2 separate regions of the Homo sapiens genome follow, and region 2 is linked to region 1. The links are contacts of gene promoters, found by promoter capture Hi-C in human tissues and cell types (Jung and others, 2019). All regions are on one chromosome and are shown on one strand. The core of a region is centred on a gene start or on the middle of the fragment in contact, and the rest is flanking DNA. Distances in the headings are between cores, read along the strand shown. Region 1 holds the start of PPP1R2 (protein phosphatase 1 regulatory inhibitor subunit 2). Region 2 overlaps XXYLT1 (xyloside xylosyltransferase 1).

Region 1 (6,949 bases), core at 2,316-4,815:
AAATAAAACCCCCCTCAATGATGGTTTGATCGGTCCTGACAATTGGATAAAAAAATAGAAATGCTAGACTATCTGAATATGGCTTTATATAAACCTCACTTTAAGTGGACATTGAGTTTTGAGAATTATCTAATGATAGTAGTACATCCATATATGAATTACAGACATATATCTGAAGTATGTTTGAATTCTATTTTTAAAAATTCCTTGGTAATATTTACGTAAAATAACATCCTCTCACAACTGGGGGATGGGTAGGAGTCAAACTATCATCGCATTTTACACAACGAAGACACCTATAAAAGGTAGGGTTCATTCTCATTATTCTCTGATTCTTTCTTTGCAAGTTTACCTACTTGCTAAAATGTGTAATCCCAAAACTAGCATTTGAGGTCCGTTAGCAGTTGCTCACAGACAGCCACAGAGCAGGGCAGATTCTGAGTTGCCCAGTGCACCGTTCACAGCCGAGGTAGCATGTTCCCAGATGGGGTCAAACAAGGCGACGCTCTGCTTTCTTGTTTCAGCTCTTGTACTGTAAACAAGTGTCCTTTTCGTGGCCTATTTAGGGTCCTTTCCTGCATTTTTGTTGGTGAATCTGGTGTGTAAAATGGCTCCCAAGTGTAAAGGGCTATTTGGTATTGGCTGAATTTGTGGAGGGGGCCAACTGTATATTTATTGTTTCTGTTCAAAGAGGATCTCATAAAGTTTGCATGACTTGTGACAAATAATAATGTATATTTGGTATGGTTTGAACGTTTGTCCTCTCTGAAACTCACGTTGAAACTTGATCTCCAATGTGGCAGTGTGGAGAGGCACAGCTTTTAAAAGGTGACTGGGTCATGAGGGCTCTGCTCTGATGAATGGATTAATCTATTCACGGATTAATGGGTTATCAAGTGAGTGGTTCTGGTGGCTTTATAAGAAGAGGAAGAGAGACCTGAGCTGGCACGCTCAGCTTCCTTGCCATGTGATGCCCTGCACCACCTTGGAACTCCACAGAGTCCCCACCAGCAAAAACGCTCTCACCAGATGCACCCTTAAGACCCTGGACTTCCAAGCCTCCAGAACCGTAAGAAATAAATTCAGTTTCTTATAAATTATCATTTCAGACATTCTGTTATGACCAACAGAAAACAGACTAAGACTATATTGTATTACTAGTAGAATTAGTTTATTTGCTTTACAGTCACATAACAAGGATCATTAAAAAACCCATCCTTTTTACCACTTGGAACCAAACATCATGAACTTCAATGAATTAGGGTTTGATAGTTCTCTTTAAAGACAGGACTGTAACTCTAACTCGACAGGTCAGTCCCTTTTAAGTGAATCTACCCTGCCACAGATACTACAGAAGAGGCAGCCCTATGCAGTTGAGTCAGTCTAGTATAGTGGCTTTTGAGGCAGAAAGACCTGAATGTAAATCCCAACCAATTACAGAAAGAAAGAGGCCAATCCATAGATTGGGCCCACGGGAAATTACAGCAGATCCAAGTTAAGAATAAACAGAAACTAAAGAAGCAGAGATAAAGAGTAACTCACTTGGTAAATGGACCAAAAGAAACTCACACTGGAGAACAGCTAAATAACATAAATGCCAGTAAGGACCACATTCCTGCTGCTGAAAACCCTGAAGCTACATTTGAGCCTTCTGTAGTTACGTTACTTATCTTTTAATTCCTTTTCTTTTCTTTCCTTTTTTTTTTTTTTTTTTTTTTTAAGAGATGAGGTCTCATTATGTTGCCCAGGCTGGTCTCAAACTCCTGGGATCAAGCAATCCTCCCACCTTGGCCTCTCCAAGTGCTGAGATTACAGGCGTGAGCCACCACGCCTGGATGTTATTTATCTTTTAACTAACTTGGTTCTCCTGCTTCAGTTATGTTCTGGTGAAATTCTGTCTTCTTAATTCCATGACCTACACATCACACTCCCCCAGCACTCCATTTAACGTGGCTTAGCCCAAAGAAGTTGGAAAATTGTGTGTGAGAGAATGTAAGATTCAAGCATCCATGAGCGTGGGAGTTGCTAGACAAAAACTAAGGTCCTTTCCAGCCCCAAAAGGCCACGATTCTAACCTATGAACCTACTCAATATTTCCTTCAAGGTAACACAAATCCCTAAAATTTACCACCACCAAGCAGTAGTTCCTTTTATGGTCCTAAATAAGATCCTTTATCCAGGAATGCCCTAGGTTCCTATATTCTGAGATTTCACAAACATCCTCATTTTAGCTTCTGACTACCAATTTCAATGGTAACTTTTCTTAAGCCTTATTTTCAGAAAGTAGAGTCCTTCTATTTTTAGTATCTTGCAACGCCCAAGCCCCCGTGCACTTCTAACCCACTACAGATACTGTACTGCAACATTTTCTCCGTGCATAAACGCCTACCTTTCTTTTTTTAAAGGCTAGTATATTGTTCCATTATACAAACGTACCGTAATTAATATTTCACCAGCTCTTACTAATGGACTTCCGGTCGTTTCCAATTATATTATAAATATTACATACAATGCTCAGGTCAACAACTTTTTACATGTGTATCTTTAGCGTATGCAAGAGCAACTAAATTACCACTGGGTCATTTCAAGTTGCTCCTCTTTGAACTGTTTTGAGCTTAGATCTATCTCTGAACAGGAACAAAAACTAGAAAGCACCCAAAACTCTGGTTGCAGATGCAGAAATACAGTGTGGCACAATGCTAATGGGGGAAATGGTCTCTTCTTTGACGGATCGCCTATTAGCTTGAGACTAGATCTTAAAGGGTTCCCAAAGCAAGAAAATACACTGTAATTATCGAAGAATTTTAGATACCTCAGAGATGAGGTTAAGAAATAGTAAAAGCTTAACAGTCGAAGATCTGAAGCTTCAATTTCATTCTTTGATGTTCCCGATTACAGAAAGTTCAAAGATGATGTTTAAAAATATTATATATGCCCAAATGCTTAAAAAAAAAAAAGGAAGCATGATAAACGTCATCGCCCAGCCTTCTTAAAGATCGCTCCCACCCGCGGCTAGCCGGGCAGGAGAAGAGACTCGAGCGGCACCCGAGCCGCATCCACGCCGCCCGCCCGCCCCTGGGGTCTGGGTAGGTAACGGGCCCGGCGGGAAGGAGGGGCTCCCAGGCCGTCCCTCCCAGCGCTCACCTCAGCTCCTCGTCGACATTCCCGCGGGGCTGTTCGGCCGACGCCACCATAGAGGAAGTCGTAGAGGTCTTGTTCTTCAAGATCCCCTTGATGGGCCGGTGCGAGGCCGTCGAGGCCGCCATTGCCGGGCGCTCCGGCTGTCGGCTCAGGGTCGCTGCTTGGCGTGGGGTCCGCGAAGAGAAGGGTCGGCACAGCAGAGACTCGCAGGCAGCCGCAGATCCCGCTCAGGGCTAAAGCGGCCGCAACTGCTGCCTCGGAAACGGCTACCGCAGCGGTTGTCACGACACAACGACCCCGACGCCAGAGCCAACGCCGAACGGGTGGCGGCTACTCGCGCACCCTTAGCCACTGGCACTTGACCCGCGGCTCGCGGAGAGACGCCGGCCTAGAGCTCCAGCGCAGGAGCGACGCGACGCCGAAGCCAAGCGGACCCGCCCTCTCGCGATATCTAGGGAGGAGGCGGGGAGAGGGCGGGGCGAGAACAAAGCCGACCTCCTCGCCCCGCCCCCTCCGTCCCGCCCGGGCTGCTCGCCCCGCCCCCGCGCGGCGCTGGGAGGCGGGAGCTGTCTCTGAGAACCTGCGGGAGAGCGCCCGGGCTTGCTGCTTCCCGGACCCGCGCGTCTCTCGAGCACCCTCGTCCCACCACCTTGTGAGGCCGTAGTGTTATTTTTATTTTTTAGATCAGCAGACTGAGACTCGAGGTGACGTCACTCCGCAGAGAGGTTAGCTGACTTGAAGAAAACGGGTATCTCCTCTTTCCATTTCGCCCGTGTAAACAGCCGAACTGCCTATTATAAAAGCATGGACTGCCAGCATTGGAGTGGTCCTTAGAGGCCTATTATGAAATCATAGAATGTCTGCATTGGAATCGCCTCACCTCCTTTTACCGCTGGAGAAGCCGACGGACAGACGGGCAGCGACCCCCGCCGTCGCACAACCCGTCTAGGCAGAGAGCGCAGGAGACGGGAGGGCGGCAGGGACACATCTCCCAGCCAAGGACCTCCTGGGCCCGCAGAGGCCGCGACAGGTTCCCCCCACAGAGGGAACCAACTCTGCCGCAGGTTGATGTGGACTTCAAGCCTGCAGAACGGAGAGCCCATTTCCATTGCTTAAAGCCACCTCGTGTGTGGTATTTGTTATGGTCCCTGTACACTCCCTTCCCTCCCTCTCCCAAGTCCAGTCCGCAGCTCGCTCATCACCAGGCTCTTTTCCATGACTCTTTCTTGATCAGGCCTTTTTATCGTCCTCACCACAGGTTAGAGCACAGCAGACTGAGCCACCCAGAACTGGCCCCTCCGGTGGACCAGCCCCTGCGGATTCACAGACCACTGGTCCTGGAAGGGACCTTGTCAAGCAGGCCCATAAGGTGGCTATTCAGCCTGTTTCTCCAACAACCCCAGGGGCTAGAAGCCCGCCACACCCCCGTGTAACTCATTTTGTTTTTGGACAGCTCTGACTCTGGGAGTTCTTAGATTGAGCTGACACCTCGCTCCCAGCAATGTCTGTCCACTGCTGTGGGGGGTGAGAGGAAGCGTTTTCCCCTATCTAGCCCCTATAGCAGCAGTTTCACTCCCATGGCTCATCTCTGGACCACAGTCTCATCTTCTTTAACACAGGCTCTGTGCCTTTTGAGGATGACCCTGTTCTGTGTCCTTAGGACTCTGCCCCTCAGGGATGACTGTAGGGTTCTGAAAACGATTGTTTTTATCGTCTGGCCCCGAGCCCCTAGCTCCTAGATGAGTTCCTGGCACAGAACAGGGCCTCAGTATGGGAATGGATGTGGATGGAGATAATGGAGGGGAAGTGAGCTGGAAGGGGAGAAGGGAAACAGGGTTGCTGGTCACAGAGTGGAATGTGTTCCCCAGGGATTTGCCTCAGCCAGGGGCCTGCACAGTCACTGTTGGCACTGTCCCCACCTTTGTTCCCAGTCAAATATCCACTGGTGCCGTCTCTCCCTCCCAGGCCAGGACTGCTCAGTGGATCTAACATTACACCCTGACAGCCCTGTCCAGCCCATGGAGCAGAGAGAGAGGGTTCTCAGCGAGGGGAAGCAGGATGGCCACCTCCCTTCCCTTCCTGAGTTCTTTCCACCCCAGTGTTCAACACCTGTGTTGCGTCTCCTGCCCTGTCAGCAGGAGTCTAGGTCAGTGATGGCAATCCTGTTTTCAAGGGAATACACAAACTTCCCTGTATGTTCCAAATTATTGGGCAGATTTGCTTTGTTCCTGCTTGGGCTGGGAAGCATCACTGAGTTCAGCATCCCTGAACTCAACTGTGACTGGGCCCTTGATTAAGCAACAGCTTGCTTTCAGACCCTCTAATGAAAGGGACTACGATCGTATGACATAAAGTGTTTTATTAGTTAATTAACTAACAAACATTGGAACAGGAGGTGATGAAGAGTTCTCTGAAGAACCTTGGAAACATATTTCCCTCATCAAGAGTTAAACTTTTGTCTCCTGTACTGGTTCTTCCACTCCCAAACCCACAACAAATGAATGCAGATGAAGATGACTTTGGTAGCACTTAAAAAAAAATAGTTTGTAAAATTGTGAGGGCCAGTACTGCTTTTTTTTTTTTTTTTTTTGAGACAAAGTCTTGCTCTGTCGCCCAGGCTGGAATGCAATGGCACAATCTCCACTCACTGCAACCTCTGCCTCCTGGGTTCAAGTGATTCTCCTGCCTCAGCCTCCCGAGTAGCTGGGACTACAGGTGCCTGCCACCACACCCAGCTAATTTTTGTATTTTTAGTAGAGATGGGGTTTCATCATGTTGGCCAGGCTTGTCTCAAACTTCTGACCTCAGGTGATCTGCCCGCCTCAGCCTCCCAAAGTGCTGGGATTATAGGCATGAGCCACCACACATGGCCTGCTTTTCCTTATCTTTCAGAATAGTTGAACTACTTTATTCCTCAGTGTGGCCCAAATAAGATTTTCAAATGCCTCTAAACAGAGCTCTCCTTCTGTGCCTCTGCTGAGGTTTGCTCCTGTAGGAAGTTATCTGGACCAAACAGCCCGAGCACTGAATTTAGCTGTATTGCTGTTACATTTCCTGTGTGTTGAGGGTTTGGCTGCCAGGAGGTGAATTGTAGATAGAATCTTTCATTCTGGTTTCAGTTTCTGGAAGTAGCTATTGAGCTCAAGGCAAATCATATATTTAAAGATATATACATGATTTAAGGATAATCTGGCATTTATCTCTGCTCTCTTTTTGAAGACTTCATTATCATGGTTGCCTGACCCAACACAACATATTTGGAGGAGGAGAGGGGACACTTTTATTGTACCCCATCACGTGGCTGAGTCATTTGGCTCTCCATTCACTGGAACAGACGACTATGGACACCACCATTGGGTTTCCCACCAAGGACAGAGTTCCAAAGCAACAGTGGCTTCCATGGTTGGCTCACCCAGCCTGCCTGAGTCATCAGCTAGGTCCACAGAGTAGAGAAGTGGGTAGTGCCCCCGCCTAACATCTGGAAAAATTCCCAAAAGTTGTGACTTCATGACCACTGAGTCAGCAGCAACTCTTTTCTTGCCAAGAATAGCACATTGTTCTTTTCCTTTTCAGGTAATCCCTCCCCGGAAAGAGAAGATCACAGATTTTGTCATATTAAATACATTGTAGAAATTCATGGTAGCAGGGGCAAGATCATTTAAACAAAACAGAAAGTTTCAGAGAGAGAAAAAGCCAAGGACAAAGATTAATCATTTTTCTGCTTAAAAAAAATGGCTTTGATTTGCAACCATGGAATGCTCCACTGTTTCTCTTCTCTTCAAAGACATCTACTGAAAGGATTCCTTAA
Region 2 (6,862 bases), core at 3,090-5,589, 310 kb before region 1:
GGCTCTCTCTTCACTTTGCTGATTGTTTCCTTCACTGTGCAGAAGCTTTTCAACTGGATGTGATCCCATTTGTCCATTTTCACTTTGATTGCCTATGCCTGTGGTGTATCACGCAAGAAATCTTTGCCAAGTCCAATGTCCTGGAGAGTTTCCCCCAATGTTTTCTTTTGGTAGTGTCATAATTTGTGGTCTTAGATTTAAGTCTTTAATCCACTTTGTTTTTTTATATGGCAAGAGAGAGAGGTCTAGATGCATTCTTCTGCATAAGGTTATCCAGTTTTCCCAGCTTCATTTATTAAAGAGATTGTCCTTTCCCCAGTGTATGTTCTTGGAACCATTGTCAAATATGAGTTCATTGTAGATGTATGGATTTATTCCTGGGTTCTCTATTCTGTTGCATTGGTCTACGTGTCTGTTTTTATGCCAGAACCATGCTGTTTTGGTTACTATAACTCTGTAGTATAACTTGAAGTCACATCATGTAATTCCTCCAGTTTTATTCTTTCTGCTCAAGATAGCTTTGGCTATTCTGGGTCTTTTGTGGTTCCATATAAATTTTAGGATTTTTTTCCTATTTCTGTGAAGAATGTCATTGGTATTTTGATTGGGATTGCATTGAATCTGTAGATTGCTTTGGGTAGTATGGAAAGTTTAACAATATTGGTTCTTCCAATCCATGAATATGGCTTATCTTTCCATTTCTTGGTGTCCTCTTCAGTTTCTTGCATCAGTGTTTTATTGTTTTCATCCTAGAGAGCTTTCACTTGTTTGGTTAATCCCTAGGTATTTTATTTGTAGCAATTATAAATGGAATTACTTTCTTGATTTCTTTTTCAGATTGTTCACTGTTGGCATATAGAAATGCTAATGATTTTTGTATGTTGAATTTGTATTCTGCAACTTTACTAAATGTATTGATTAGTTCTAATCAATACATTTTTTGTTTTGTTTTTTGGTGGAGTCTTTAGGTTTTTCCAAATAGGAGGTCATATCATCTGCAAACAAGTGTAATTTGACTTCTTCCTTTCCCATTTGGATAGGCTTTATGTCGTTCTCTTGTCTGATTGCTCTAGCTAGGATTTCCAGTACTATGTTGCTATTCAACATAGTGGGCATCCTTGTTATTTCAGATCTTAGAGGAAAGGCTTTCAGTTTTTCCCCATTCAGTATGATTATTTGCTGTGGGCCTGTTGCATATGGCTTTTATTATATTGAGGTATGTTCCCTCTATACTCAGTTTTTTGAGGATTTTTATCATGAAGTGATGTTGAATTTTATCAAATGCTTTTTCAGCATCAACTGAAATGATCATATGGTTTTTGCCCTTCATTTAGTTGATATGATGTATCACACTGATTGGTTTGTGAACGTTGAACCATTCTTGTATCCTTGGGATAAATTCCACTTGGTCATGATGAATGATTTTTTTTTTTTTTTAAATGTACTGCTGACTTTGGTTTGTTAGCATTTTGTTGAGAATTTTTGCATCAGTGTTCATCAGGGATACTAGCCTATAGTTTTCTTTTACTGATGTGTCTGTCTGGTTTTTGGTATCAGGGTAATTCTGGCCTCATAAAATGAGTTTGGAAGTATTCCCTCCTCCCCTATTTTTCAGAATAGTTTGAGTAGGGTTGGTATTACTTCTTCTTTAAATGGTAGAACTTAGCAGAGAAGCCATTGCATCCTTGGCTTTTCTTTGCTAGGAGACTTATTATGGCTTTGATCTAATTACTTGTTATTGGTCTGTTCAGATTTTGGATTTCTTCATGATTCTATCTTAGTAGGTTGTATGTGTCTAGAAACTTATCCATTTCTTCTAGGTTTTCCAATTTATTGGTATATAGTTGTTCACAGTAGCCACTAATGATCCTTTGAATTTATGCAGTATGAGTTGTAATATCTCCTTTTTCATCTCTGATTTTATTTATTTGGGTCTTCTCTCTTTTTTTTCTTAGTCTGGCTAAAGGTTTGTCAATTTTATCTTTTCAAAATACCAAAAAAAAACTTTTCATTTCATTGATCTTTTGTATTGTTTACTCTGTTTCAATTTCATGTATTTCTGCTCTAATTTTTATTACTTCTTTTCTTCCACTAACTTTGGGTTTGGTTTGCTGTTGCTTTTCTAGTTCTAAGACGCATCATTAGGTGGTTTATTTGAACTTTTTCTTCTTTTTTGATGTAGGCATTTATAGCCATAAACTTCTCTTAGTACTGCTTTGCTGTATTTCATAGGTTTTGGTATGTTGTGTTTCTATTATCATTTGTTTCAAGAAATTTTTCAATTTCTTTCTTAACCTCTTCATTGACCAACTGGTCATTCAGAGGCATATTGTTCAGTTTCCATGTGTTTGTATAGTTTCCAAAATTCCTGTTATTAATTTCTAGTTTTATTCCATTGTAGTCAGAGAAGATACTTGATATTATTTCAGTTTTTTGGAATGTTTTAAGATTTGTTTTGCAACCTAGCATATGGTCTATCCTTGAGAATGATCCATGTGCTGAGCAGAAGAATGTGTATTCTGCAACTATGGAATGAAATGTTCTGTAAGTATCTATTAGGTCCATTTCGTCTATGGTGCAGATTAAGTCTGATGTTTCTTTGTTGATTTTCTGTCTGGATGATCTGTCCAATGCTGAAAGTGGGGTGTTGAGGTCTCCAGCTATCATTGTATTGGGGTCTATCTCCATCTTTCACTCTGATAATATTTGCTTTATATATCTGAGTGCACTAGTGTTGGATGCATATATAACTGTTATATCCTTATGCTGAATTGACCCCTTTATCATTATACAACAAACTTGTCTCTTTTTATATTTTTTTCTTGAAATCGATTTATCTGATATAAGTATAGCTACTTCTGCTCCTTTTTGGTTTCCGTTGGCATGAAATATCTTTTGCCATACCTTTATTTTCAGTCTATGTGTGTTTTTATAAATGAAGTGTGTTTCCTGTAGGCAATAGATCATTGGGTCTTAAAAAAAATCTATTCATTCACTCTTTGTCTTTTGATTGGAGAGTTTACTCCATTTACATTCAATGTTATTATTGATTAAGTAAGGACTTACTCCTGCCATTTTGTTATTTGTTTTCTAGCTGTTTTCTGGTCTTCCCTTTTAGTAAAGGTGATTTTCTCTGGTGTTATGTTTTATTTTCATGCTTTTTACTTTTTCATATCCATTGTATGTTTTTAGACTTGAGGTTGCCATGAGATTTGCAAATAATATTTTATAACACATTATTTTAAACTGATGACAAATTAACACTGATTACATAAACAAACATACTAAAAAACAAGCAAAAAGAAAACTAATAAAAACTCTATAACTTCATCTCCCCACTTTTTAACTTTTTGTTGTTTCTATTTACATCTTGCTGTACTGTCTTGAAAAGTTATTATTTTTGATTGGTTTATCTTTTCATCTTTGTACTTAAGATATCAGAAATATACACATTGCAATTATAGTGTTTTAACAGTCTGTGTTTTTCTCTGCACCATTACCAGTGAACTTTTCACCTGCAGATGATTTCTTATTGCTCATTAACATCCTTTTATTTCAGACTAAATAAATCCCTTTAGCATTTTTGTTTTGTTTTGTTTTGTTTGAGATGGAGTCTCACTCTGTCACCCAGCATGGAGTGCAGTGGTGCGATCTCGGGTCACTGCAAGCTCCGCCTCCCAGGTTCATGCCATTCTCCTGCCTCAGCCTCCCAAGTGGCTGGGACTACAGACGCCCGCCACTACGCCCAGCTAATTTTTTTTTTTTTTTAGTAGAGACGGGGTTTCACCATGTTAGCCAGGATGGTCTCGATCTCCTGACCTTGTGATCCGCCTGCCTCGGCCTCCCAAAGTGCTGGGATTACAGGCGTGAGCCACTGCGTCTGGCCAGCATTTCTTGTACGATAGGTCTGGTATTGATGAAATCCATCAAGCTTTTGTTTGTCTGGGTAAGTCTTTATTTCTCCTTCATGTTTGAAGGATTTTTTTTTTTTTTTTTTTTTTTTTTGAGACAGAGTCTCACTCTGTCGCCCAGGCTGGAGTGCAGTGGCACAATCTCAGCTCACTGCAACCTCTTGCCTCCCAGATTAAAGCGATTGTCCTGCCTCAGCCTCCCAAGTAGCTGGGATTACAGGCGTCTGCCACCATGCCTGGCTAATTTTTATATTTTTAGTAAAGACGGGGTTTCACCATCTTGGCCAGGCTGGTCTTGAACTCCTGACCTCAAGTGATCCACCTGCCTCAGCCTCCCAAAGTGCTCGGATTACAGGCATGAGCCACCGCACCCAGCCTGAAGGATATTTTTGCCATATATGCTATTTAAGTTTTTTCCCTTCAACACTTTAAGTATGTCATGCCACTCTCTCCTGGCCTGTAAGGTTCTCACCAAAAAGTCTGCTGCCAGACGTACTGGAGCTCTATTTTATGTCATTTGTTTATCTTGCTACTTTTAGGATCCTTTCTTTATTCTTGACTTTTGAGAGTTTGTTATTAAATGCCTTGAGGTAGACGTCTTTGGGCTAAATCTGCTTGGTGTTCTATAACCTTCCTGTACTTGAATATTTATATCTTTCTCTAGGTTTGGGAAGTTCTCTGTTATTATCCCTTTAAATAAACTTTCTACTGCTGTCTCTCTCTCTACCTCCTCTTTAAAGCCAGTAACTCTTAGATTTGCCCCATTGAGGCAATTTTCCAGATCTCGTAGGCAAGCTTCATTCTTTTTTACTCTTTCTTTTGTCTCCTCTGACTGTTCTTTCTTGCTTGCTTTCTTTTCTCGCTCTCTTGCTTTCTTTTTTTGAGACAGGGTCTGGCTCTGTCATCCAGGCTGGAGTGCAGTGGGGCAATCTTGCCTCACTGCAACCTCTGCCTCCCAGGCTCAAGCCATCCTCCCAGCTCTAACTGTGTATTTTCACATAGCCTCTTAAAGTTTACTATTTCATTCTTCTACTTGATTAATTCTACTATTAGGAGATTCTGATGCATTCTTCAGTAAGTCAATTGCATTTTTCAGCTCCAGAATTTCTGCTTGACTGTTTTTAATTATTTCAATTTGTTTGTTAAATTTATCTGATAGGATTCTGAATTCCTTCTCTGTGCTATCTTGAATTTCTTTGAGTTTCCTCAAAACAGCTATTTTCAATTCTCTGTTTGAAAGATCACATATCTCTGTTTCTCCAAGACTGGCCCCTGGTGCCTTATTTAGTTCACTTGGTGAGGTCCTATTTTCCTGGATGGTCTTGATGCTAGTGGATGTTTGTAGGTGTCTGGCCATTGAAGAGTTAGGTATTTATTGTAGTCTTTGCAGTCTGGGTTTGTTTGTACTCATCCTTCTTGGGGAGGCTTTCCAGGTATTCAAAGGACGTGGGTGTTGTGATCTAAGTTTTTGGTCACTGCAGCTGTATCTGCATTAGGGGGCATACCAAGCCCAGCAATGCCGTGGTTCTTGCAGATTTGTAGATGCACCACCTTGATGGTCTTAGATCACATCTGGAAGAATTCTCCGAATTACTTGTTCTCTTCCCTATCTCCCAGATGAATGCAATCTCTCTATATATCTATAAATATATAGACATAGACATAGACATAGACATAGACATAGACATAGACATAGACATAGACATAGACATAGAGATATACACCTGGCTGGGCTGCCTGGAGATTGGGGAGGGGTGACACCCCTGTCACTATCACCACTGGGACTGCACTTGGTCAGATCTGAAGCCAGCACACCACTGAGTTTTGCCCGAGGCCTGCTATAACCACTAGCTGACTACTCTCTATGTTCAATCAAGGCCCTAGGGCCCTACAATTAGCAGGTGGCAAAGACTGCCAGGCTTGTGTCCTTCCCTTAAGGGCAGTGAGTTCTCTTGGGCCCCAGGCAGGTCCAGAGATGCTATCTGTGAGCCAGGGCCTGCAATCGGAAGCCCTAGAAATCTGCCTGGTGCTCTATTCTACTGCGGTTAAGCTGGCAACAAAACCACAAGATAAAGTCCTTCCCACTCTTCCCTCCTCTTTCTCCAGGCAGAGGACTCTCTCCCTGTGTCCAGTACCACCACAGGCCCATGGGGAGTGCTGCCAGAGCGCCACCAATGTTCACTTAATGCCCAAGGACTCTTTAGTCAGCTTGTGGTGAATGCTGCCAGTCCTGGGACTCTCTTCAGGGCAGTGAGCTCCCCTCTGGCCTGGGGTAGGTCCAGAAATGCTATCCCAGAGCCAAGGCCTGGAACTGGGGACCCCAAGGGCCCAGTTGGTGCTCCCCCTATGTCTGAGCTGGTATCTAAGCTGCGAGACACAGTCCCCTTTATTCTTCCCTCTCCTTTACTCAAGCAGAAGGAGTCTCTCCTCGTTAACCACCACAGCTGTGAATGTGCTGGATCCCATCTGAAGCCAGCAGGTCTCAGAGTCTCACCCAAGGCCCATGGTATGTACTACCTGGTTACCACTGCTGATTATTCAGGGTCCAGGGGCTCTTTCGTCAGCAGGTGATGATTCCTGCCATTACTGGGTCCTTCCCTTCAGGGCAGTAGGCTCCCTTCTGGCCCAGGGTGTCTAGAAATGTCATCTAAGATCTAGGGCATGGAATGGGGGCCTCATGACTCTGCCTGGTGCCTTATCCTACCGTGACTGAGCTGGTACCCAAGTTGCATGACAAAGTCCTCTTTACTCTCCTCTCCTCTAACAGAAGGAGGGGGTCTCTTTTGGAGCTGTGAGCTGCGCTGCCTGGGTTTGGGGGATAGGGGATGCAAGTGCTCCCTGAGCCACCCTGGCTGGTGTCTCATTAGGTCATGTAACCCCCAAGTCCACTGGCTCTGAGCCCAGCACAGCACTAGGACTCACCTGGGTGTTGCAGTCCTTGTGGCCTGGTT

The links. The method cuts DNA at HindIII sites, captures the fragments that hold promoters and counts their contacts. A contact is called where the count stands out against the background at its distance.
Region 2: a fragment that was not itself captured here is called in contact with the fragment with the promoter of PPP1R2 in region 1 in 1 of the 25 tissues and cell types used here (spleen).

What each region holds. Positions count from the first base shown.
Region 1 is chr3:195,539,760-195,546,708 of GRCh38, forward strand. PPP1R2 (protein phosphatase 1 regulatory inhibitor subunit 2) reads right to left here and starts at 3,566. Exons shown (of 6, transcript NM_006241.8): 1 at 3,145-3,566. The coding sequence starts at 3,266. RefSeq lists enhancers at 535-644, 6,284-6,523 and a silencer at 3,538-3,777. The HindIII fragment of the contact is 14,684 bases long and covers 842-6,949 here.
Region 2 is chr3:195,230,331-195,237,192 of GRCh38, forward strand. All of the region lies in intron 1 of XXYLT1 (xyloside xylosyltransferase 1), which reads right to left. Among named protein-coding and RNA genes, the nearest start is that of XXYLT1, 37 kb to the right of the region's middle. The HindIII fragment of the contact is 4,702 bases long and covers 1,989-6,690 here.